7 separate regions of the Homo sapiens genome follow, and regions 1, 2, 3, 4, 5 and 6 are each linked to region 7. The links are contacts of gene promoters, found by promoter capture Hi-C in blood cells and fetal thymus (Javierre and others, 2016). All regions are on one chromosome and are shown on one strand. The core of a region is centred on a gene start or on the middle of the fragment in contact, and the rest is flanking DNA. Distances in the headings are between cores, read along the strand shown.

What was found. The method cuts DNA at HindIII sites, captures the fragments that hold promoters and counts their contacts. A CHiCAGO score of 5 or more calls a contact.
Region 1: a contact is called between a fragment that was not itself captured here and the fragment with the promoter of LTO1 in region 7, in 3 of 17 cell types (endothelial precursors, M0 macrophages and M1 macrophages). The highest score is 8.8, in endothelial precursors.
Region 2: a contact is called between a fragment that was not itself captured here and the fragment with the promoter of LTO1 in region 7, in 11 of 17 cell types (neutrophils, endothelial precursors, monocytes and 8 more). The highest score is 9.5, in neutrophils.
Region 3: a contact is called between a fragment that was not itself captured here and the fragment with the promoter of LTO1 in region 7, in 2 of 17 cell types (M1 macrophages and endothelial precursors). The highest score is 5.1, in M1 macrophages.
Region 4: a fragment that was not itself captured here is called in contact with the fragment with the promoter of LTO1 in region 7 in 3 of 17 cell types (neutrophils, endothelial precursors and naive CD4 T cells); the score reaches 6.3 in neutrophils.
Region 5: a contact is called between a fragment that was not itself captured here and the fragment with the promoter of LTO1 in region 7, in 1 of 17 cell types (megakaryocytes). The highest score is 5.9, in megakaryocytes.
Region 6: a fragment that was not itself captured here is called in contact with the fragment with the promoter of LTO1 in region 7 in 2 of 17 cell types (M1 macrophages and endothelial precursors); the score reaches 5.2 in M1 macrophages.

What each region holds. Positions count from the first base shown.
Region 1 is chr11:69,222,102-69,225,275 of GRCh38, forward strand. No RefSeq gene overlaps it. Among named protein-coding and RNA genes, the nearest start is that of SMIM38, 68 kb to the left of the region's middle. The HindIII fragment of the contact is 1,438 bases long and covers 730-2,167 here.
Region 2 is chr11:69,289,257-69,292,406 of GRCh38, forward strand. No RefSeq gene overlaps it. Among named protein-coding and RNA genes, the nearest start is that of MYEOV, 3.3 kb to the right of the region's middle. The HindIII fragment of the contact is 3,965 bases long and covers 1-3,150 here.
Region 3 is chr11:69,238,592-69,241,476 of GRCh38, forward strand. No RefSeq gene overlaps it. Among named protein-coding and RNA genes, the nearest start is that of MYEOV, 54 kb to the right of the region's middle. The HindIII fragment of the contact is 8,114 bases long and covers 1-2,885 here.
Region 4 is chr11:69,308,813-69,311,644 of GRCh38, forward strand. No RefSeq gene overlaps it. Among named protein-coding and RNA genes, the nearest start is that of MYEOV, 16 kb to the left of the region's middle. RefSeq lists enhancers at 2,066-2,565, 2,407-2,636. The HindIII fragment of the contact is 4,555 bases long and covers 1-2,832 here.
Region 5 is chr11:69,179,589-69,182,444 of GRCh38, forward strand. No RefSeq gene overlaps it. Among named protein-coding and RNA genes, the nearest start is that of SMIM38, 25 kb to the left of the region's middle. The HindIII fragment of the contact is 1,130 bases long and covers 940-2,069 here.
Region 6 is chr11:69,260,550-69,263,669 of GRCh38, forward strand. No RefSeq gene overlaps it. Among named protein-coding and RNA genes, the nearest start is that of MYEOV, 32 kb to the right of the region's middle. The HindIII fragment of the contact is 9,090 bases long and covers 1-3,120 here.
Region 7 is chr11:69,673,584-69,676,754 of GRCh38, forward strand. It overlaps LTO1 (LTO1 maturation factor of ABCE1), which reads right to left and starts at 1,770. Exons shown (of 5, transcript NM_153451.3): 1 at 1,607-1,770. The coding sequence starts at 1,656. RefSeq lists a silencer at 1,352-1,441 and enhancers at 1,562-2,062, 1,932-2,131. The HindIII fragment of the contact is 5,284 bases long and covers 1-3,171 here.

The sequences.
Region 1 (3,174 bases), core at 199-2,698, 450 kb before region 7:
GTTGTTCCACATCCTCGCCTACATTTGGTATGGTCGTTTTTTTTTTTTAATTTTAGCCATTCTGTTGGGTGTGCTATAATTATGGTTTTAACTGCATTTCCCTGATGACTAACGATATTGAGCACCTTCTCATATTCCCAGTGGCTATCTAAACATCTTTTGTGAACTGCCTGTTCAAGCCTTTCCCTCACTTTAAAAACATTTGGGGCTGGGTGCGGTGGCTCATGCCTGTAATCCCAGCACTTTGGGAGGCCAAGGCAGGTGGATCACCTGAGGTCGGGAGTTTGAGACCAGCCTGACCAACATGGAGAAAACCCGTTTCTACTAAAAATACAAAAATTAGCCAGGCGTAGTGGCACATGCCTGTAATCCCAGCTACTTGGGAGGCTGAGGCAGAAGAACCACTTGAACCAGGGAGGCGGAGGTTGCAGTGAGCCGAGATGGCGCCATTGCACTCCAGCCTGGACGACAAGAGTGAAACTCCATCTCAAACAACAACAACAACAACAACAAAACAGCAACAACACATTCGGTTTTGTCTGTCTTTTTCTAACTCATCTTTAGCAACTGTTTGTATACTCTGATGACAAGTCTTTGGTTGGATCTATGTATCATGAATATCTTCTTTCACTCTGTGACTTGCTTTTTCACTCTGTCTTTAGACGGAGTGTCTTTTGACAGCTTTTCTCTTTTTGATTTCTTAAACTTTTTGGCTTTTTAAAAAAATTAAGCTTTTTATTTTGAGATAATTGTCAATTCACATGCAGTTGTGAGAAATAATACAAAGATATCCCGTGTACTCTTTCATCAGTCTCCCCCCAATGGTAACGTCTTTCAAAACTATAGTACAACCTCGCAACCAGGCTACTGACATTGATCCAGTGAACTAACTGAACGTTTCCATCACCTCGAGGATTCCTCATGTTGCATTTTTATACACACACCTACTCTCCTCGTGTCCCCCACCCTCCTTAACCTTTGGCAACCACTAATCTGTTCTCCATCTCCATAAATTTGTCATTCCAACAATGTTATATAAGTGGATTAATAAATTTGTTTTTTCCCTCAGCATAATTCTTTGGAGATTCATCCAGGTTGTTGTGTCTGTCAATAGGTTCTTCCTTTTATTGCCAAGTAATCTTAGTTTGTTTAATAACTCACTTGTTAAGAACATTTGGATTGCTCTCCAGTTTCTTGCTATTACAATAAGGCAGCTATAAACATTTATGTCCAAGTTTTTGTGTGAACATAAGTCTTCATTTATTTAGGAGTAACTGCCCAGGAATTCAATTGTTGGGTCACATGGTTCTTGCTATATGAAACTGCCAAACTTTTTCAGAGTGGCTGTACCATTTTACAGTCTCACCAGCAATGTAGGAGTGACCCAGTTTCTTCACATCCTCACCAGCACTTGATACCATTATTTTTTATTTTAGCCATTCTGATAGGTGTCTAGTGATACCTCATTGTAGTTTGAATGTGTAGTTGCCTAATGGTTAATGATGTCGAACATCTTTTTATGTACATATTTGCATCTAGGTATCTTCTTCAGGGAAATGTCTCTTTATATCTTCTGCTCATGTTCTAATTGGGTTGTTTGCTCTTTCACTGTTGAGTTTTAAGGGTTCTTTCTATAGCCTGGATACTTCTCTTTTGTAGGATTTGTGGATTGCAAATATTTTCTCCCAGTCTATACCTTGTCTTTCCATCCTCTTAGCAGGGTCTTTGGCAGAGCAGAATTTTTATTTGGATTAAGTCCAGTTTATCAAGTTTTCCTTTTATGGATCGGCTCTGAGAGTCAAGTCTAAGGACTCTTTGTCTACTTCTAGATGCTGAAGATTTTTTCCTCTGTTTTTTTCTAAAAGTATTATAGTTTCACATGTACATAATTCATTATGAGTTACTTTTTGTAAAAGGTGTGAAATTTAGGTTGGAGTTCATTTTATTGCAAATGGATATCCAGTTGCTTCAGCACCATTTTCTATAAATGCTATTTTTCTCCATCGAATTGATTTTATACCTTTGTTAAAAATTAGTGGGGTGTATTCTTGTGAATCTATTTCTGGGTTCTCTGTACTGTTCCATTGTTCTGTATGTTTATTTGTCTGCCAATACCATGAACTTTTGATTATTGTATTATTATTTGATTATATAAGCCTATATATTAAGCTTAAAATCAAGTAGACTAAATGCTCTCACTTTATTCTTATTTTTCAAAATTGTTTTAGCTATTCTAAAACCTTTTCTTTTCTATATACATTTTAGAATAATCTTGTGTATATCTACAAAAAAATCTTACTGAAACTTTGACAGGAATTGCTGTATATCAACCATACCTAAACACTGATTTAGGGAGGATTGTCATCTTTACTATGTTGGGTCTTCTAATCTATGAACATGGTATGTCTCTTCATTTATTTAGATTTTCTTTGATGTCTTTCATAGTGGTTGTGTAGTTTTCAGCATGCAAGTTCTGTATATCAAAAAAATTTACATCTAGTTATTTAATTTTTGAGTGATTTCAATAGCATTGTATTTTTAATTTTTATGTTCACATGTTTACTACTAATACATAGAAATACAATCAGTTTTGTATATTTATCTTGTCTGTCACCTTGCTGAACTAACTTATTAGTTTCTGGGAGGTATTGTTTATGTAGATTCATTGGGATTTTCCACAGCGATAATCATGTTATCTATTTTATTTCTCCTTTCTCATATGTATGGCTTTTGAATTCATGTTAATTATTCTGCAAAGAATTGGTACAATTGTCCAGTAAAATCATCCAGGCTTGGAGATTTCTGAAATGATGTCTTTAATTTCCTTAATAGTTATAAGGCTATGCAAATTATCTATTTCATATTGGGTGAGTTGTGGTTAAGAAGTTGATTTATCTAAGTTGTCAAATTTATGTGTGTAGAGTGGCTCATAGTATTCTATTTTATCTTTTTGATGTCTGCAGGGTCTGTAATGATATTCCCGGTTTCATTCTTCATGTTGGCAATTTGCATCTTCTCCTCCTTTTTTTCGTTATCAGTCTTGCTAGAAGTGTGTCCATTTTATTGTTCTCTTCAAAGAGACAGCTCTTTTTTCATTGATTTTATTTTTTTTCAATTTTATTCATGTCTGCTGTTCTCTATTATTTCTTTCTTCTGCTTTCTTTGGGTTGATTT
Region 2 (3,150 bases), core at 195-2,694, 380 kb before region 7:
TTGCGGGAGAAATTCCTACTTGGGGTGCCAGCCAGCAAGGCAGAGAGGCAGGTACCTATTTCAGTGCTATAGGGCTTGGCCTGGACACCCTCTGTCATGTGTGTGATAATCATAACACAATGTCGAGATCAGCATCTGATCACCACCCAGGGCTTCTTAAACACGTACTCTGTGCCAGGCACTGAGCTACGCACTTTTTAATGAATCACTTAGTTCACTCTCTCACTCACAACTTGCTGGCATCCATCTTGCTTTACTGTTGGGGAACGGGAGGCCCAGAGAGGTGGTGCAAGGCAGTGATTTGAACCAAGGCCTCCCTCTTGCTCTCCACAGCTCATGCTCTCACTGTGGCACCTGCTAATTCTGCAGCACCCAAGCAGGTCTGGGTGGAGAGGCAACCGGCTCCCCTGCCCCCATCCCAGGAGGAACCCAAGCCTCAGGAACCTCCTGAGGAAAGGCCCCACTGGCCATGACCTTCAAAGATCCCCCGGAGACCACCTGCAGGCATACCCGTATTAGTTATCTATCGGCATAACAAATCGCCACCAACTCAATAGCTTACCACAACCCCAGTTGCAAGTTCAAAGTGCTGCAGGTCAGACATCCAGGCACTGCTTTGTGGGTCTTCTGCTCGTGGTCTCACGTGGTGAAAATCAGGGTGTCAGGCAGACTGGGCTCCTTCTGGGGGATCTGGGGAGGAGTCTGCATCCACGCTTATCCGGGTTGTTGGCCGAATGCAGTTGCTTGCAGGTGCAGCTGTAGGATTGACGTCCCTGTTTCCTGCTGACTGTTGGCTGGGGCCACTCTCAGCTCCCTTGGCTGCCCACATTCCTTGCCATGTGGTCCCCTTCATTTTCCAAATCAGCAGTGGTTCTCATCGTCCAATTCCCGACTTCCACTTTGAGGACCAGATGGAGAAAACACCCTACTTGTAAAAGGCTCATGTGATGAGGTCAGGCCCATTAGGTTAGTGTCCCTTTCTCAAAATGAACAAGTCAACAGTGCCATCAAACACAATCCTATCATAGAGTGTTCATCATATTCACAGGGGCAGGGACTATGTAGGGCATGTATACCAGAGGTGTGGGTCTGGGGACCATCATAGAATTCTGCCTCCCACAATTTTAAAAATTAATTCAGCATCAGTTCTTACTTTTCCCAAGAAGATCGCACCATATTGGGCTGGGGTGGGGCATGGAGAGGGCCACTGGCTTCACATAGCCTTGGTTCAGAATCCTGGCTCTGATCTCCAACGGCTTATGGCCTTGAAGAGGCAGCATGACTGTTCTGGGCCTCAGTTTACTCATCTGTAAAATGGAGTGAGGGCCACTGGCAGGGCAGCTGGAAGGTTAAATGGGATCATGCAGGTAGAAATTTTGGTAGAACCTGACCCTTGGGGCCTGGGCAATAGATGATGCAGCTGTGCATGGTTTTTTAGAACAACCCAGGCTTCTGTTTTGTTTGAAGTAGGGTGGGACCAATGAAAAGCATGTTTTTAGGCTCAAACACATCTGAGTCCACATCAGGAATCTTTCAGAGTCCAACTGTGGCCAGCGAGGCCCTGAGTACTGGACAGGAGACATGCCTTGTGCTGACCAGTGCCCACATGCTGGTGGCTGCAACCTGGGCTGGCTGCTCACCAGTTGCTCACAGGCAGAAGGGTCAGGGCCAAGCCTGATCCCTCAGAGCAGGAGAGTTGGGCATGGAGTTGTGGCAGGTGGAACATCATATGCCCACGCCATTGGAGCTGTGGTCCCTCCTTGGCAGTGCTCTGAGGGAAACTGGCATCCCTGTGCCCCTCCCTTTAGAGTCTTTGGCTTCCTCATTGTGTCTTACTGCGAAAGAGCAGTCAGACTGATATGGATGATGGGAGGAGCTGCCCTTTGGCTCAGAGGAGGAGTGTCAGAGAAGGGGTCACAAAGACAGCTCTGTAGGCTGAGCCAAAAGCAGTATAGGGTAATGTTAGGAGCAGGTCTTGGTGCAACTGCCTGGGTGCCCCTAGGTTCCACTGCTAACTTGCTATGTGACTGAGCCACTGTACACTTTAGTTTCCTCCTCTGTAAAATGGGGATAACAGTAGTCCTAGCCATAAAGTTGTCATGAGGATTAAATGAAATAGTGTGGGAAAACTACTGACATGTGGTGCATGTTCAGTACAAGTTATCCTCACCATTATCATCATCACCACCATCATCATCATCATCACCAGCATCATCATCATTACCGTCATCACCATTACCATCATCACCATCATCATCATTACCATCATCACCATCATCACCATCACCATCACCATCATTATCACCACCATCATCACCATCACCATCATCATCACCACCATCATCACCATCATCACCAACATTATCATCAGACCACCATCATCACCATCATTACCACCACCATCATCATCATTATCATCTTCACCATCATGATCACCATCATCATAACCACCATCATCACCATCATCACCACCACCATCATCACCATTATCATCCTCACCATGTTCACCATCATCATCATCACTATCACCACCACCACCATCATCACCATTATCATCCTCACCATCATCACCACCATCATCACCACTTTCATCACCATCACCGTCATCACCATCATTATCACCACCATCATCACCATCACCGTCATCACCATCATCACCACCATCATCATCACCATTATCATCCTTACCATCATCACCATCACCATCACCACCATCATCACCATTATCATCACCATCATCAACGCCATCATTATCACCATCATCACTATCATCACCATCACCATCACCATCACCAACTCATCATGATTTAACAGGTGGGCTGGCAATCTGAATGTTGAAGACAGAGGGAGAAAATCAACCTGGGGCAGTCAGATTTCTACAGTCCTCCCCAGCAGGACCCAGGTGGGCTACTGGGAGTCCCAGAAGCAGATATCAGCCCAAAAGATGAGCTTTGATAATTAGAGTGAGGCTATGGTGAGACTGAGTGACACTGCGGGGTGCCAAAATAATCTAGGGTTGTTGGAATGCTGACAGCAGACAAAAGTAAGATAAGGTATCTCCTGACACCACCTCCTTCCATCTGCTCTCAGACGGGGCTCTTTGGAGAGGATCTGCCAGGAAGAACTGAGGTCTTATGCCACCTCCACCTC
Region 3 (2,885 bases), core at 25-2,524, 440 kb before region 7:
TTTCTTGTATACAGCACATAGCTGGGTGTTGATCTTTTATTCAGCCTGACAACATCCATGCAGAATTTTGATGGTGACTTAAACTTTCCTCTAAGTCAAAATTGCCACAATATGTTCTGTGTCACATTTTTTCAGGACTTCAGAGGATATGTCTCTCTAGAGGATGTGTCATCATTGCAAATCCGTCCTCTGCAGTCAGCAGGGATGCTTCCATTTTATAGATGAGGGTATTGAGCTTCCACGAGGGGAGGTGAAGTACTTGAGTCCACTCCCACGGCCACCAGAGGTTGAAGCACGACTCTCTGGCTCCTGGCCAGCCTTCCTTTTCCCATCACAGCTGCAGCTGTGGGGAAGGAGGATGATTCTGAACTGACCCTGTGGGTTGAGATGGAGACCTCCAGCTTCCTGGGAAGAGTTCTTCCTTCTTTGCAAAAATAAATGAATTGATATAGGCCATTTTGTATTCAAATTAGATTGGTCAGGGGCTATTTAAGCAACCACATCAGAAGGCTCATTTTCCCTTTTGACATTAAAGTGTCTTTTCCAGAAACTGTAGGAGGTGGGGTTTCCCTAGAATGAGTTGACAGCTTGTACCTATTGTTAAAAAAAGCAAAAAAAAGAAAAGCCTTGTACACCTCTTCCCACATCTTCAATGGTAACAGAATGAGCATAATCGAAAGAGGTTTGTGATGATTATTTTTTTTTTAAGAGAAAACACTCACAGCCTTCTGCCTGGTGTAAGGCTGAAATAGGGCAAAAGGGGAAACTGAGCATGAGCAGGGCATAGAATATCAAAGGCAGTAAGTCCTTTTGGCCACATCTGGACTCTTCTCCCATCCCACAGAAAACCTCCCCAGCCAGTCTGGAGGTGGGTGGATGGCGAGGGTCCCCTTTCATAGGTCACTTGATCCGCTCCTTGCCCACCCCTCCTGCCCACCCTCTGCCGGCTTAGGTTACCCCTGGAAACCACCCACATTTTTCATCTGTCCAGAGAAATCAGGAGGGGACGAACACCTCTGTTGGGTTTTCCAATCAAACACTGGGGGAACGGAGCATTTTAATCCTCAAGAATCTCCCCACCAGCGAAGTGAACCCCTGAGAGGCACTGTGGATGTGCAAAGGCAAGCCCTGTCCCCGATGGCCCAGCACTAAGTGGTAGAGATGACATGGTCATGACAACACCGAGGCTCAGGCATGAGAGGTGTGTCAGCCCCATCCTGGGACACTGCGACAGTGGGGACAAGGAAGACTGCTGGTCAGAAACAGGGTTCAGAGGCAGGCCCGACTGACATTGACAAAGCTCCTTTCATGTGCTGCTATAGGAGGCAGGTGGGCTCTGGGATCATTTGGCAGCTTGTACCTATTGTTAAAAGAGGAAAACAGGCCAGGCGCAGTGGCTTACGCCTGTAATCCCAGCACTTTGGGAGGCCCGAGGCAGGCGGATCACGAGGTCAGGAGATCGAGACCATCCTGGCCAACATGGTAAAACCCTGTCTCTACTAAAAATACAAAAATTAGCTGGGCGTGGTGACGTGTGTCTGTAATCCCAGCTACTCGGGAGGCTGAGGCAGGAGAATCGGTTGAGCCCGGGAGGTGGAGGTTGCAGTGAGCCGAGATCGCGCCACTGCACTCCAGCCTGGTGACAGAGTAGGACTCCTTCTCAAAAAAAAAAAAAAGAAAAAAAAAAAAAGGAAAACAAAATATGGTAAATATCTTGTCACCTCTTCGATGTAGGATGGCATGAGATGACATAAGCCCAGTTCTTCCAAATGTCCCCATTTTACAGCAGAGGAAACTGAGGGTCAGGATCTCTTTGGGCACGGTTGCAAAGAAAGGCCTCCTAGAGAAAGGGGCCTGTGTGCAAGCCCAGGGGGATGGGGGGTGAGGCTTAGAGCATTTCCCGTGGGTGGAAACAGTGAACAGGCCTCTGGAATCAAGCTAGCCCATAACCTGCCCGGGGCACAGCAAGTGGTATGGCGAGAACAGACCAAGTTTTGGGTGCCGAATAAGGATGAGGTAAACCAGGGGCAGAGTTTTGGAATCTCAGCCCAAAGGAGTGGCCTGAGTCCAAGGCTGGGGGAGCATGCACCTGCTGGTTGCTGACACAGGTGATCCTGGCTGTGTTTTTGTTAAGACTGGCTTTGTCGTAGCTCCATGGATCTGGGCACAATCCAGAGATGTTGTCTTCTTGCACACTCATTTTACAGATGAAGAAATCAAGGCTTGGGGTAGTAGAGAACTTTCCAGAAGTACAGGGCAAGTTTGTGTCTAAGCAAAGCTGAGCCCTCTGCCCCCTTGTGGTGATCTCCTCAGCCCCGTTCTCATCCTTCCAGGGCAATAGTCTTTCCTTGGGAGTAAAGTTCAACCTCAGTTTGGCCCAGACATTTGGCTTTTCCCAGTGGTGGCAGAATTTGTGGGATCAGTGTGTGTGTGTGGTGGGGGCAGGGCAGGGGGCTGAGTTAGGGAGCTTAGGGATGGGCAGCTTCTCCCACATCCATAAAATTGGGGCGTTTACCAATTCCCACAGCTGGTATAAATACCCTCCCTGGTGCTTAGCAAAGGCTGCTGGGAGTGGGGTTGCCCCTGCCCGACTCAGATTCTCTTAAAGACCCAGGAGAAACACTTGCATTGCAATGAGGTCTCTATGTCCTCAACCATTGGACTGAGCACCTCCGCATGGGAATGTCTGGAATTGCAGGTTTTGAAGGCCTAAATTAGGGCTGTGAATGATTTTCTTCAAAATTCAGGGGCCTGTGGGCATGGCCACAACCCTCACCTGGATGCCTGTCCTCTGTTCACCCTCTGTTCTCTTTCCAGCAGAACATTCAGCCCAGCCTTGGGTGTCAGGCATGTGCCTGCCTCTCTGACCTCATCTGGTGGCCAGG
Region 4 (2,832 bases), core at 2-2,501, 370 kb before region 7:
TTCCAAAGGCTCCCACTGCCTTAGGTGCACAGTGTGCCACCTAGCACGGGAAGTGGAGCCCGCCAGGCAGCACCTGGGATACGGGCTGCTCCAGGGATGCCCTGGGAGGAGGGGATGGGGATGCATCCCAGGGAAGAGGTTCCTGGGCTATGACGGGGGTGCAACTCAGCTTCCCCTGGGGTCGGGGAGTGGGAAGACCATTCTGAGAGTGGGAACAGCTCTTGCAAACATGGCCGACATGCAGGTTGGGGCAGATTTGGTGATGAGTGCCTTGGGCCTGATTGGAGGTCCCGTGGGGGTGGGTGGCTGTGGGGCCCCCAGGCAGGGCCTGAAGCAGGCGGAGGGGGTGAGTGGGGGGTTCTGATGGGCCACTGGGAGTGGCCTGAAGTGCACTGGAGCAGGAGGTGGCATTGTCCGGATCCTGTTTGAAAGACCCCTTTTCTGATAGAAGGAGGGCAGATTGCCGGGTGAGTCAGGGGTGGTGGCAGCTATCTGGGCAGAGGCTAGTGTGGGGTGGGAGGCGTGAGGCAGATGTGAGAGCTCAAGGAGGGAGACTACATGCAGCTCAGTGACCTGGGTCTCAATGTGTTCCCAGGTTTGCAGCTGGGGCAACTGGAAGCAGGAGAGGGACCTGGAGAAAGGAAGGCAAAGAGGTGGGTTCCTTTTGGGGCACACTGAGGTTGAGCTGCTTAAGAGACTCCCACGGGTGAGGCAGAAGCCTTGAGCTGCTGGGTTAGCAGCTCCGGGCTCAGGGGAGATCTTGGCCAGAGAAAAATTCTGGGGGTCCTAGTATTCACATAGTGACTTCAGCATGGAGGGGGCAAGGTCCCTCCAGAAGCAGGTGTCTGGAGGAGAGAGGGCTATGGCCTCCACTCCAGGCCCAGCTGGCCCCTAACGGACCCTCCCGCCCGCAGCACCTGCCCTCAGGGCCACAGGGGGCTGCTGGCACCTGGCTCGCTGGGAATGCTCCAGAGGTCCCCTGTCTGCTGCTCATGATTTCACAGACTTGGCAACCAGGACAGGATTGCTATTATTTTTCACCAGAAAACAATGTATGGATTTTGGGCTCTTGCTGATGATTCTAGAGGAAAACAGCTGAGAGGATGCGTGTTTTCAAGGGAACATTCCTCTTTGGACTCGGTCCACTCAGTGTCCTCTTGGAAAACCACAGGGAGGGCTGGAAACAGTCTTAGACTCACATGAGGGGGAAAGGGAGACCAGATCCTTCTCCCAGCTCTGCTTGTGGCTCTCTGTGTGATCCCATGAAGAGAGGAGGAGCAGTGACTCTCACCTGAAATGCTCCCAGCCAAACATGGCCTAAACCAAACGGGATGGCCTCCCTGCCCCTATCCTGGTCCTCCATGGGCTGTCCCCATCTCATGGAATGGGGCCAAGCCTCACACATGGGTGTCACACGTCCTTCTGGGGATTCCTGTCCCTTGTATCTCTTGAATCAGGCTCTTAGATTCTTCTGCTTCATTCCATCATTGTAACCTCCTTCCACGACTCTCAAATCCGTCTCCTTCTCCATATCTCCACTGCCGTCCCTATGTTCCTCTCTGCCTTTGGCTCTGCACGGTACGAGCAGGTGGTCTCTGTCCAGCCAATGTGGGCCCTTTGCACACTGGTGTGAGTGCTTCTAAGTCTCGTTCCAGCTCTCAGTTCGGCCTCTCCCAATCTCCTTGTGTCTTCCCACAGCATGTGGGAAAAGACTAGGAGGACGGCACTGGGGCCACAAAGATAAGTCCATTGTCCCTGCACTCCAGGGATCTGAGCCCCGTGGGCCCCCGGCATGAGTATAATGTGGAAAGGAAGCCTGCGGAAAGGCTCCAAGAGGACGGTACGTTAGAACTGGGTCTCGAGACATGGGTGTCTGGGCCGTAGGGGTGCAGAAACCAGGTCCTGACTTGGCCTGGATGCAAGTGCCAGGGGCTGTTCTGTCTCTGTCAGCTCCAGGACCATTCAGGGGTGGCACAGAGCTTGGGAAGGAATGAATAACAGTCCTGGACATTATGCCAACATTCAGTGAGTGCCTACTGTGTGATCCAGTAGACCCTGGGTGATGTATTAACTTGCCAGTCCTCCCAGTAACCCAGATTAGTCCCAGTCTGCAGACGTGGAGGTGGAAGCTCAGAACAGTTCGGTCACTTGCTTGAGGCCACACAGCGAGGGGGGCAAAGCCAGGCCACCTGCTCCAGAGCCTAGGCATGGATGGGGGTGGAGGGGAGTCCTGAGCCGGGGGGTTCTTTGCTGCCTTTGGGCAGGGTGGGCACAGAGGTCCCAGTCTCGCTCTTGGCCACGCCGAGTGCTCCCTTCCGCTGACTGTGGCTGTAGTACCGACAGGTGTCTCTATTGATGCTACAGCCCCCACCTTTCATTGTCTCTGGGACAAAGGCTCCTCGGGCTCCTAGCTTTGGGACAAGACTGTGGCTGCTCCCTGCCATTGGCTAGGCCTCCCACTGGGGCCTCCTGCCCACTACCTCCCCATGCCTTGTGGCAAGCCTGTGAGTCAGCGTACCCATTTCACAGCAGGGACACAGAAAGCCCCTGAAACCAGGGACTTTCCCAGCACAAGAGTGTCCAAGACTAGAATCCAACTTTGTCTCGGTCCAGCCACCTGCAGAGTGACCCATGCGGATAGTTGTCAGCCCTTGCTGAGCCATCCTTTGTTTCCTGTTCATACTTTCCCATAAGTCACAGAATCCTCCAGGCAACCCAGTGATGTAGGCACTGTCACTATTCCTTCCTACAGACCTGGAAACTGAGTCACAAAAAGCAAGCTGCTTTCCCAGACCCCACTGCTCTGCTAGGTGGAGGCCAAGCTCGTGTGTG
Region 5 (2,856 bases), core at 255-2,754, 490 kb before region 7:
CCACCTTGCACAGCGTGGGCCAGGAGCTGGCCCGTGTGGTCTCTTTGTTCACGCATGGCCTCATGACAGCCTGGTGTGAGGCTTTCCTCCAAAGCACCCCTGAAAGGTGGAGACACTGAAGCCAAGGAGGTCAAAGAGCAGCCTCAGTCCCTAGTGTCTCTGCCGTGAGGGCAACCGGACCCAGATGTGGCTGCAGTTCTGAGCCCATCAGCATCCCCCTCACTGTGCATGCTCTGAAGGCAGGCGTGGGCACTTGCAGGGCACGTGGCACCTCAGAGAGAGCCCATCCCGACAACTCACTTGCACTTAGTGTCCTTGGATACTGATTCTGTGAGGACCGTCCTCTCTCCTGGAGACCGACCACAGAAGAGAATGCTAACATATTGAGTGCCCTACAGACCAACTTGTCTAATCCTTATCATCACCGTGGCCAGCATCACCTCCAGGGTGTAAGTGAAGGCATCAAGGTGGCTTTCCGAGGTCCAGGCGGCCGCAGTGTGTGGAGATGGGCCTACCTGGTGCTACCCTTCTGGTTTCCTTCCCTCCGTGTCTGGACCTGTGGGAAGTGTCTCTCCCTTGGATAGCAGGAGAGGTGGAAAAGACCCCAGGGATGTCTGTCCTGTTCTCTTCTCAGTGCGCCCGCATAATTGGTCTGCACTTTCCCTGCCAGGCCTCAAATGGGAGAATCAGATCAACAACCGAGAATCCTCTAGCTCGGGCGAGACCCCGTGGCTGCAGCCGTACACACTAGCCGTTCACAAGGCCATCACACTCTAGGTCTTGGTTCAGAGGCTACTTCTTTCAAAGGGGATGCATTCATAAGGGCCCCTTATCTGTGCCCTCCCTGGCTGTGCTCCTTCCCCTTTTCCTTCCTCTAACAGCCACTGTGAAAGCCCAACCACAGGCTCTGGAGCAGATCCACACGGGACTCAAGAAGGAAGCTTGTCTTTCTCTTGCTGGTGCAGTTTTCACCTAGCACCTTTCCCAGAACTCCCCACCCCAACTCCACACAGAGGGGCACCGAGTCTCATGACCAGCAGCATGAATGCACACAAGGCTGGAGGGAAGGCCGGGGGATCTATTTCCAGTGTTGTCACTGAGCCGGTTTTAAAAATGAGGGGGAGATGAAGAGGCTTGTTCTCACTGTGGCCGCAATAACGCTGCATAACACACCATTCTCAAGCTCAGAGGCATGCAGCAATCAGAATTTATGTCCTGTGTGGGTCTGTTTGGCTGAAGTGGCTCAGCTCCAAGGGACAGGTCTGTGGGTTGGTTGGGGTTTGGCTGATCTAGGCTGGGCTTGGTTGGGTTTGGCTCTGGGCCACGGCATGGTCCATGTGTCCCCTCTTCCTGAGACCAGCAGGCTCCCTGGGTGTGATCTTCTCACAGCACTGGTTGAAGTGCAGGGGAGCAAGCCCAGTCCCAAACCCTCTTTCTTTTTTTTCTTTTTTGTTTTTTTTTGAGATGGAGTCTTTCTCTGTCACCCAGGCTGGAGTACAGAGGGGCAATCTTGGCTTACTGCAACCTCTGCCTCCTGAATTTAAGCAATCCATCTGCCTCAGCCTCCTGAGTAACTGGGATTACAGGCACCCACCACCATGCCTGGCTAATTTTTGTATTTTTAGTAGAGTCAGCGTTTCCCCCCATGTTGGCCAGGCTGGTCTCGAGCTCCTGACCTCAAGTGATCCACTGGCCTCGGCCTCCCAAAGTGCTGGGATTACAGGCATGAGCCACCACACCCGGCCACAAAACCCTCTTTCCAACCTTATTTGCCCCTATCAGCAAACTCACCTGGTTCAAGATGAGTCCCATGGCCAAGCCATGCCTGTGGGGAAACTGTAAAGTCATGTGGCAAAGAGTATGGATAAGGGGCAGCCTATAGGATAGGCGCCATGTTGCCATCTGGGGCTTTCCAATGGCTTCGAGCTGAACTCTGCCCTGAGCTGAACTCTGCCCTGATTGAAGTGTGCTTGTTGGTGGAGAGAGGATTGGGTCTATGGATGCTGGAAATGGTGGATTTGGGTTCAAGGCCTGGTCTGGTCACTTCCAAGCTGTGGGAGCCTGGGCGAAGCTTGTCTGAGCCACAGTTTCCCTGTGTGTAAAACGAGGGGCAATGAGTCTGTACCTAAGCTCATGCTGAGAATTGAGCGAGATGGACAGCCCGAAGCAGAGTGCCTGCCCCAAGGGATTCCTGCAAATCATGGGTGCCACAGTGTCCCTAAGGAAAGTGTGTTTTTGTTGGTGAAGTTCTCAGGACATTAGTACCCAGGCAGAGTCGGGGCATCTGGCCTCAAAGTACAAGAGAAGCAAGGAGAAATCACACAGGTAAAGCAGGGCTTACTGGCTGGGCACGGTGGCTCACACCTGTAGTCTCAGCACTTTGGGAGGCCGAGGTGGGCAGATCACAAGGTTAAGAGATCGAGACCATCCTGGCCAACATGGTGAAACCCTGTCTCTACTAAAAATACAAAAATTAGCTGGGTGTGGTGGCCAGCGCCTGTAATCCTAGCTACTCAGGAGGCTGAGGGAGGAGAATCGCTTCAATCCGGTAAGTGGAGGTTGCAGTGAGCCGAGATCACACTACTGCACTTCAGCCTGGGCGATAGAGTGAGATTCCGTCTCAAAAAACAAAAAACAAAAGAAGGGTTACCTTGTGGAAGTTTCAGAACCAAGGGGCCTTTTGAGACCCCTAGTGAGAGACGTCCCAGCTGCTCCAAAACGGATGAGGACAGTCAAATGCCCCATTTCTCCACACCCACCCAGCCCCCTCAGCCCCGGTCTGGCCAAGGCACCTCCTATACAGCCTTGTCAGCATCACACCAGGCTGCCGAAGGAAAGCCTGCTGTGACGCCAGCA
Region 6 (3,120 bases), core at 582-3,081, 410 kb before region 7:
GGGATTCCGAATGGAAAAGAACACACCTATTAATCCTTGAAGGCTTTGCCAACTGTGATAATAAAGTCTTCTTGAAGATCATTTCTCTTCATTCACTCAGGACTTGATTTATGTTCTTCAGGTACATTTCATCATTTTTGTCCTAGAGATCTAGTGCTTTTCTTATTAAACTTATTTCTAAGTATTTTATGGTTAGCTCACCAAGATTAGGAAATTGGAATGTGGCAGGGCTGGGGAAAGCAGAGCAAAATCAATCACACATGACAACCAAGTATCTAGAAAGCACTTACTCTAGGGGGGCAGTGGCCACACCAGTTTTCAAGCCAGAGTCACAGAAATTTCTGGAGTTGTACTCAGCTCTAAGTAAGATATTCTCCTAGATTCCCTTCTAGCTCACACTTGCTGTTATACTACACTTAGGGTATCAGGAATCATCTGGAACTTGCCAGATTGATGATGGCATTAGGGGTGATTGCTCCCCTGCCTCCTCAACTCCACTACCTTCTTACAGAAACTGGTAGCCTGTCTAGAACTCCTGTGTCTCTTTTAAGACTTAAAGTACCAAATGACAACAGCATTGGCTGGGGCAACTTGAAGAGGTATGAGGGGTATTTGAGGATGCGGCTGGCATTCCTGGACCCCTCCACTTTTGCTGATTATGTCTACAGGCCAGTCTCCTGCCCCATCTCCTGCACCCCCTACAAAGGAGGAGATTGTTCTCTGGTTTCTGGCTGACCTTGAGGGATTATTCACAAACACAGGGATCACATTCACATCTCGCCACCAGCATGGTCTCTGGGACCCAGCTGCAATGTTAAATGAGAGGGCAGCCTGGAACCTGGGAGGATGGGATCTTCGGGTCTGCTTCTGCCTGTGCCTGGAGGGCTGGGCCTCCAGGATGGGTCCTGACTCTGTATCATGGTCCACTCCTCACACCAAATGTGTTCTAGATACTGGGTGGCCCCAATCCCACCAGAAGACGGGGCAGTGGCAATTTTTCCAATGATCTCAGGGTGGAGATTTCTACCTCTGATCTTCGGGGTGGAAATCCATGAGATCACTTTTCTTTTTTTTTCCAGGCCTTCAATGCTGGGCCTCTATCCTGCCCACGTGGTTGGTGGGGCAGATTCGTGGCTCTCCTCAACACCTTCATGGATTAACAAACAGTCTCATGCTCAGTAAATGGAAAGTCCAGTCCAGTCTAAGTCAGAGCTTCAGTCTTTTTTTTTTTTTTTTTTTTTTTTTGAGACGTAGTCACGCACTGTCGCCCAGGCTGGAGTGCAGTGGCACGATCTCGGCTCACTGCAACCTCTGCCCCTCCAGGTTTAAGCAATTCTCTGCCTCAGCCTCTGGAGTAGCTGGGATTACAGGCACGTGCCACCATGCCCAGCTAATTTTTTGTATTTTTAGTAGAGATGGGGTTTCACCATCTTGGCCAGTCTGGTCTTGAACTCCTGACCTCGTGATCCACCTGCCTTAACCTCCCAAAGTGCTGGGATTACAGGCATGAGCCACAGCGCCCGGCCAGAGCTTCAGTCTCTTATCCCATGTACACCCTCTTCCCCACTCCACGGCTCCTGCTAGGGTGGGCAGCTGTCATGGGGAGGGCCTGGGCTGTGGTTTCTGCTGCATTCTTCCTTTTTCCTTCTTCCCCCATGAGGCTTGGAGTTTCTCCTCTGGCGTGTGCCTTTGATGTCTGGCTTTGGGCCTTTCCCCATTGGGAACCCCTAGCATGAGTCTCTGGCCCTGGCCAGGTGCCTTCAGCTAAGGGCCTGTGACTGCTCCCATCCTGGGCTCCTCTCTAGGGAGGGCCTCAGGTGGCTCCTGGTGGTCTCTCACCCTCATAGGAAATGTCCTTTCAAGATGACCCACTCATGGCTTCTTTTCATGGCTGTCCACCATGACTCACTTTCCCCTCCATGCCTGAAGATGGCCACCCCGAGGGCAGCTCTGGCCACCCCTCATTTAGGCAGTGCAGGCAGGGGTCAGCACCAGGCTCTGCATCCTCCAAAACTCTAAAATCTCCTGCAGACCCTCAGAGATGCTTCTGAGGACCCCCTCACCTGGCCTGAGATGCGAGTGAGAAGAACACCTCTCTCTTCACTGTCAACACAAGTAAATAACAAGTATTGGTGAGGATGTGGAGAAACCAGAACCCTTGTACACTGTTGGTGGGAAGGCAAAATGGTACAGCCACATTGGAAAACACTTTGGCAGTTTAGCAGATGGATGATCCATCCATCCATCCATCCATCCATCCATCCCTCTGTCTATCCATTGATCCATCCATCAATCCATCCCTCCATCCATCCATCCATCCACCCATTCATCCGTCTGTCCATCCATCCATCCATCCATCCATCCACCCATCCATCCTTCTGTCTGTCCATCCATCCATCCATCTGTCCATCCATTCATCTGTCCACTCATCTGTCCATCCATCCATCCATCCACCCACCCATCCTTCCACCCATCCATCCTTCCATCTATCTATCTGTCCATTCGTCTGTCCACCTGTCTGTCCATCCGTGCATCCATCCATCCATCCATCCGTCCGTCCATCCATCTGTCCATCCATTCATCTGTCCACCCATCTGTCCATCCACCCACCGTGTCTGTCCATCCATCCATCTGTCCATCCATCCATCCATCCATCCATCCATCCATCCATCCGTCCATCTATCCATCCATCCATCCATCCATCCATCCATCCATCCATCCATCCATCCAACCATCCACCCACCCATCCATCCATCCATCCATCCATCCATCCATCCTTCCATCCATCTGTCTGTCCATTCATCTGTCCATCTATCCATCCATCCATCCATCCATCCATCCATCCATCCATCCATCCATCCATCCACTCACCCATCCATCCACACTCACTGAGCACCTGCTACATCCTGCTCAGAGTCTGGTGGGAAGACAGATGTGTAAACAGACAATGACAACTCAACATCCAGGGCCATGATGGAGAATCATTTCCCACTCTAGGTTCTGAAAGCAGTAGTCCAGTACCCTTTTCCTGCTCTGGGCTGTGTCTCCGTGTAGCTGATATGACTCTGATGATGTCATCCTCTAGACCTCAGTTGCTCTTCTGGAGTTACAAGGAAGCAG
Region 7 (3,171 bases), core at 520-3,019:
TACTAGAAACACACAAGGAAAATTCAAAGATATTAACTCAAAAGCCTCACCCCCAGAGATTCAGTACGTCTGGAGCAAGGCCCTGGAATCTACTTTTCTTTCTTCCTTTTTTTTTTTTTTTTTTTTGAGACAGGGTCTCTGTTGCCCTGCCTGGAGTGCAGTGGTATGATCACAGCTCACTATAGCCTCAAACTCCTGGGCTCAAGCGATCCTCCAGCTTTGGCCGCTCCAAGTGTTGGGATTACAAGTGAGGGCCACCGCACCTGGCCTGCAATCCACTTTTCTTTTCTTGAGATGGAGTCTCGCTTTGTCGCCCAGGCTGGAGTGCAGTGGTGCGATCTCGGCTCACTGCAAGCTCTGCTTCCCGGGTTCACGCTCTCCTGCCTCAGCCTCCCAAGTAGCTGAGACTACAGGCGCCCACCACCACATCCGGCTAATTTTTTGTATTTTTAGTAGAGACGGGGTTTCACCATGTTAGCTAGGATGGTCTGGATCTCCTGACCTCGTGATCCGCCCGCCTCGGCCTCCCAAAGTGCTGGGATTACAGGCGTCAGCCACCGCATCTGGCCCGGAATCTACTTTTCAAAGTCTCCTAGATAAGTCTGGTTTGCAGCCAGAGTTAGGGGGCCAAAGTTCTGTGAGTGTTCAAGTAGCACTAGCCCAAGTCAACCGCTTCCAAAAAACTGCAACATACACAGGGTTTGACATCACATGGGTAGGGCAACAGAGAGAAATGGCATCAGATCACCACAAAATGTTCTCCGACTGGTACCCGGAGTAGCACTGACCCTGAGGCCCAACAGTGGAACTGCCACTATCTTAACCTGCAGTCACCAAACATGCAAGGAGTGGGCTGCAGCGCCCCATGAAGCAGGGTGCATAGCTCCCCACTTAATAGTTGTGTGACCCTGGAAAGTGACTGTGCCTCCTAGTCTGTAAATTCCGAAGAATAATAGGATCCACTTACTAAGTAGGGCTGAAGTAGATAACCAGGGTGGAACGTTTAGCTCAGTGTCTGACTCACAGCGCGAGCTAAATAAACGTCAGCGCCTGACTGCTAAATGTTCGGCCGCTTTCTTAACTAACATCTATGGACGCGTCCTCTGGGCCGGGCACTGGAAGTCAGCCAGGAGGCAACTCACAGCTCCCCCACTGTCGCAGCACGAGGGGCTCCCCAGGGGCTCTGGAGGGAAAAGGGGTGTGGTCGGGTACATCTATCAGCACATCCATGAATACTGCCGTATGTCCTATGATTAAGGAACCAGAAAAAAAGGCAGCTCCCAGATGGCAAAGGTCTGTCCTCCCAGAGGACGAGGCGGCCTCGGAGGAGGGGAACCACCAGGCTGAGCAGATGTTTGGGGCAGCCCTGACAGGGAAGGCGGGTCTGGAAGAGCAGCTGGGCACGTGCCCCGCCGGAGCGGGCCAGGAGAAGAGGACCAGAGCATCAGGCCCACACTTGTCCCTGCGTCCACGGCCACCAGGCGCTCCCCAATGCGCACGCCCAAGGGACGCCAGGCTCCAGCAGCCGCCCTGGGCCGCAGCCGGCGGCGAAGCCGCTGGGAGACGACCAGACAGGGCGGGGTGCGGGCCCGGCCTCACCACCCACCTCTCATCCGCCATCACGATGGCATCGAATATGTCCTGACTGCCAGCCATAGCGGCAAGCAGCCCGCCCTTGGCCCCCGGGTTTCTGCAGCCCCGCGGTGCCGTAGCAGACCCGGCAGCTTCAGGCACAAATGCTCCGCTTGGGAGGAGACGAGACCCACTTCCGGAAGCGGCGGCGCGGGGCAGGCCGGGTAAGAACGGCACGCGGGAGGGCCCAAAGCAGCCTGTACATGGCGCATGCGCGGCTGCAGCGGTGGGCGGGGCCGGCCTCGACTGAAGCCCCGCCCTGGGGTCCTTTCGCCCTGCCCAGCTCCAGCAAAGGGCCTGTCTGTCCGCGCTGGGAGCGTCCATTGGCCGCGCGCGTGGAGAGCCGACCTGTATTTTACCACTGCAGATAGAACCGAATTTCCCAAAGTGGCTCCGAAAGAACCAAGGAAGAAATGGGAAGTCATCAGCTGGCGCGGTGGCTCACGCCTGTCATCCCAGCACTTTGGGAGGCCGAGGCGCGCGGATCACCTGAGTTCGGGAGTTCGAGACCAGCCTGGCCAACATGGTGAAACCTCGTCTTTACTGAAAATACAAAAATTAGCCGGGCATGGTGGCAGGCGCCTGTAATCCCAGCTACTCGGGAGGCTGAGGCAGGAGAATCACTGGAAGCTGGGAGGCGGAGGTTGCAGTGAGCCGAGATCGCACCACTGCACTCCAGACTGGCGACAGAGCCAGACTCCGTCAAAAAAAAAAAAAAAAAGGGAAAAGAAATGGGAAGTCATCAAAGAACCGACGCCTCAGGAGGCTCCAGGCCAGGAGGCTCTGCATGTGGGATTTTGGGCAGAAATTTGTCGGTTTTAGTTCTCATATTTGTCATTTCCATGAGATGTGCTTTCTGAACACGATTTTTAAAAAGGGATTTCAAAGTCTAAGCGACAACGGAACTCAGATGAGAAACACCAGAAGCATTCCTAATAAAGTCAGTAGTAAAACCTCACGTGACCACTGAACATCTTTCTACCAGCCCTGGCCAATGCAGTAAAACATGAAGCAAGAAGTGGAAATACCAAAAAAAAAAAAAAAAAAAAAAAAAGGCAGAAATACTACTATTTGCAGATATGATGGCCCACGTGGAAAACCCAAATAGTCACCTAAGACGTTCTCAGAATCCATAATCGCAGCAAGTAGCTATGTGTATGATGAATAGGGAAAAAAACACTTTCTGTTATTCCAACAATAATTGGTAGTAACCTGAGCAGGGGTGGTGATGGGAAAATCGCCTTATGATAGTCATAATACATTTCTTAGAAATAAGAATTTCTAACAATTTGAGCAGGACCCATATAAGGAAAACTACAGCTCTACCATGATTGAGGATTGGGGAACTGAACAAGTGCAGTACCAAAGAAAATTCCATGAGATCTGGTAAAATGTGTCAAAATCCTAAACTTTTTCATCCGTATGAATAAACTAATAAAAATAACTAAGATGTTTTAGAAAAAAATGATTTTCATATCAGATATGAAAAGATAAAGTGTCAATATAAATATTGTGGTATGTTGGTTCAAGAAGTGGCAG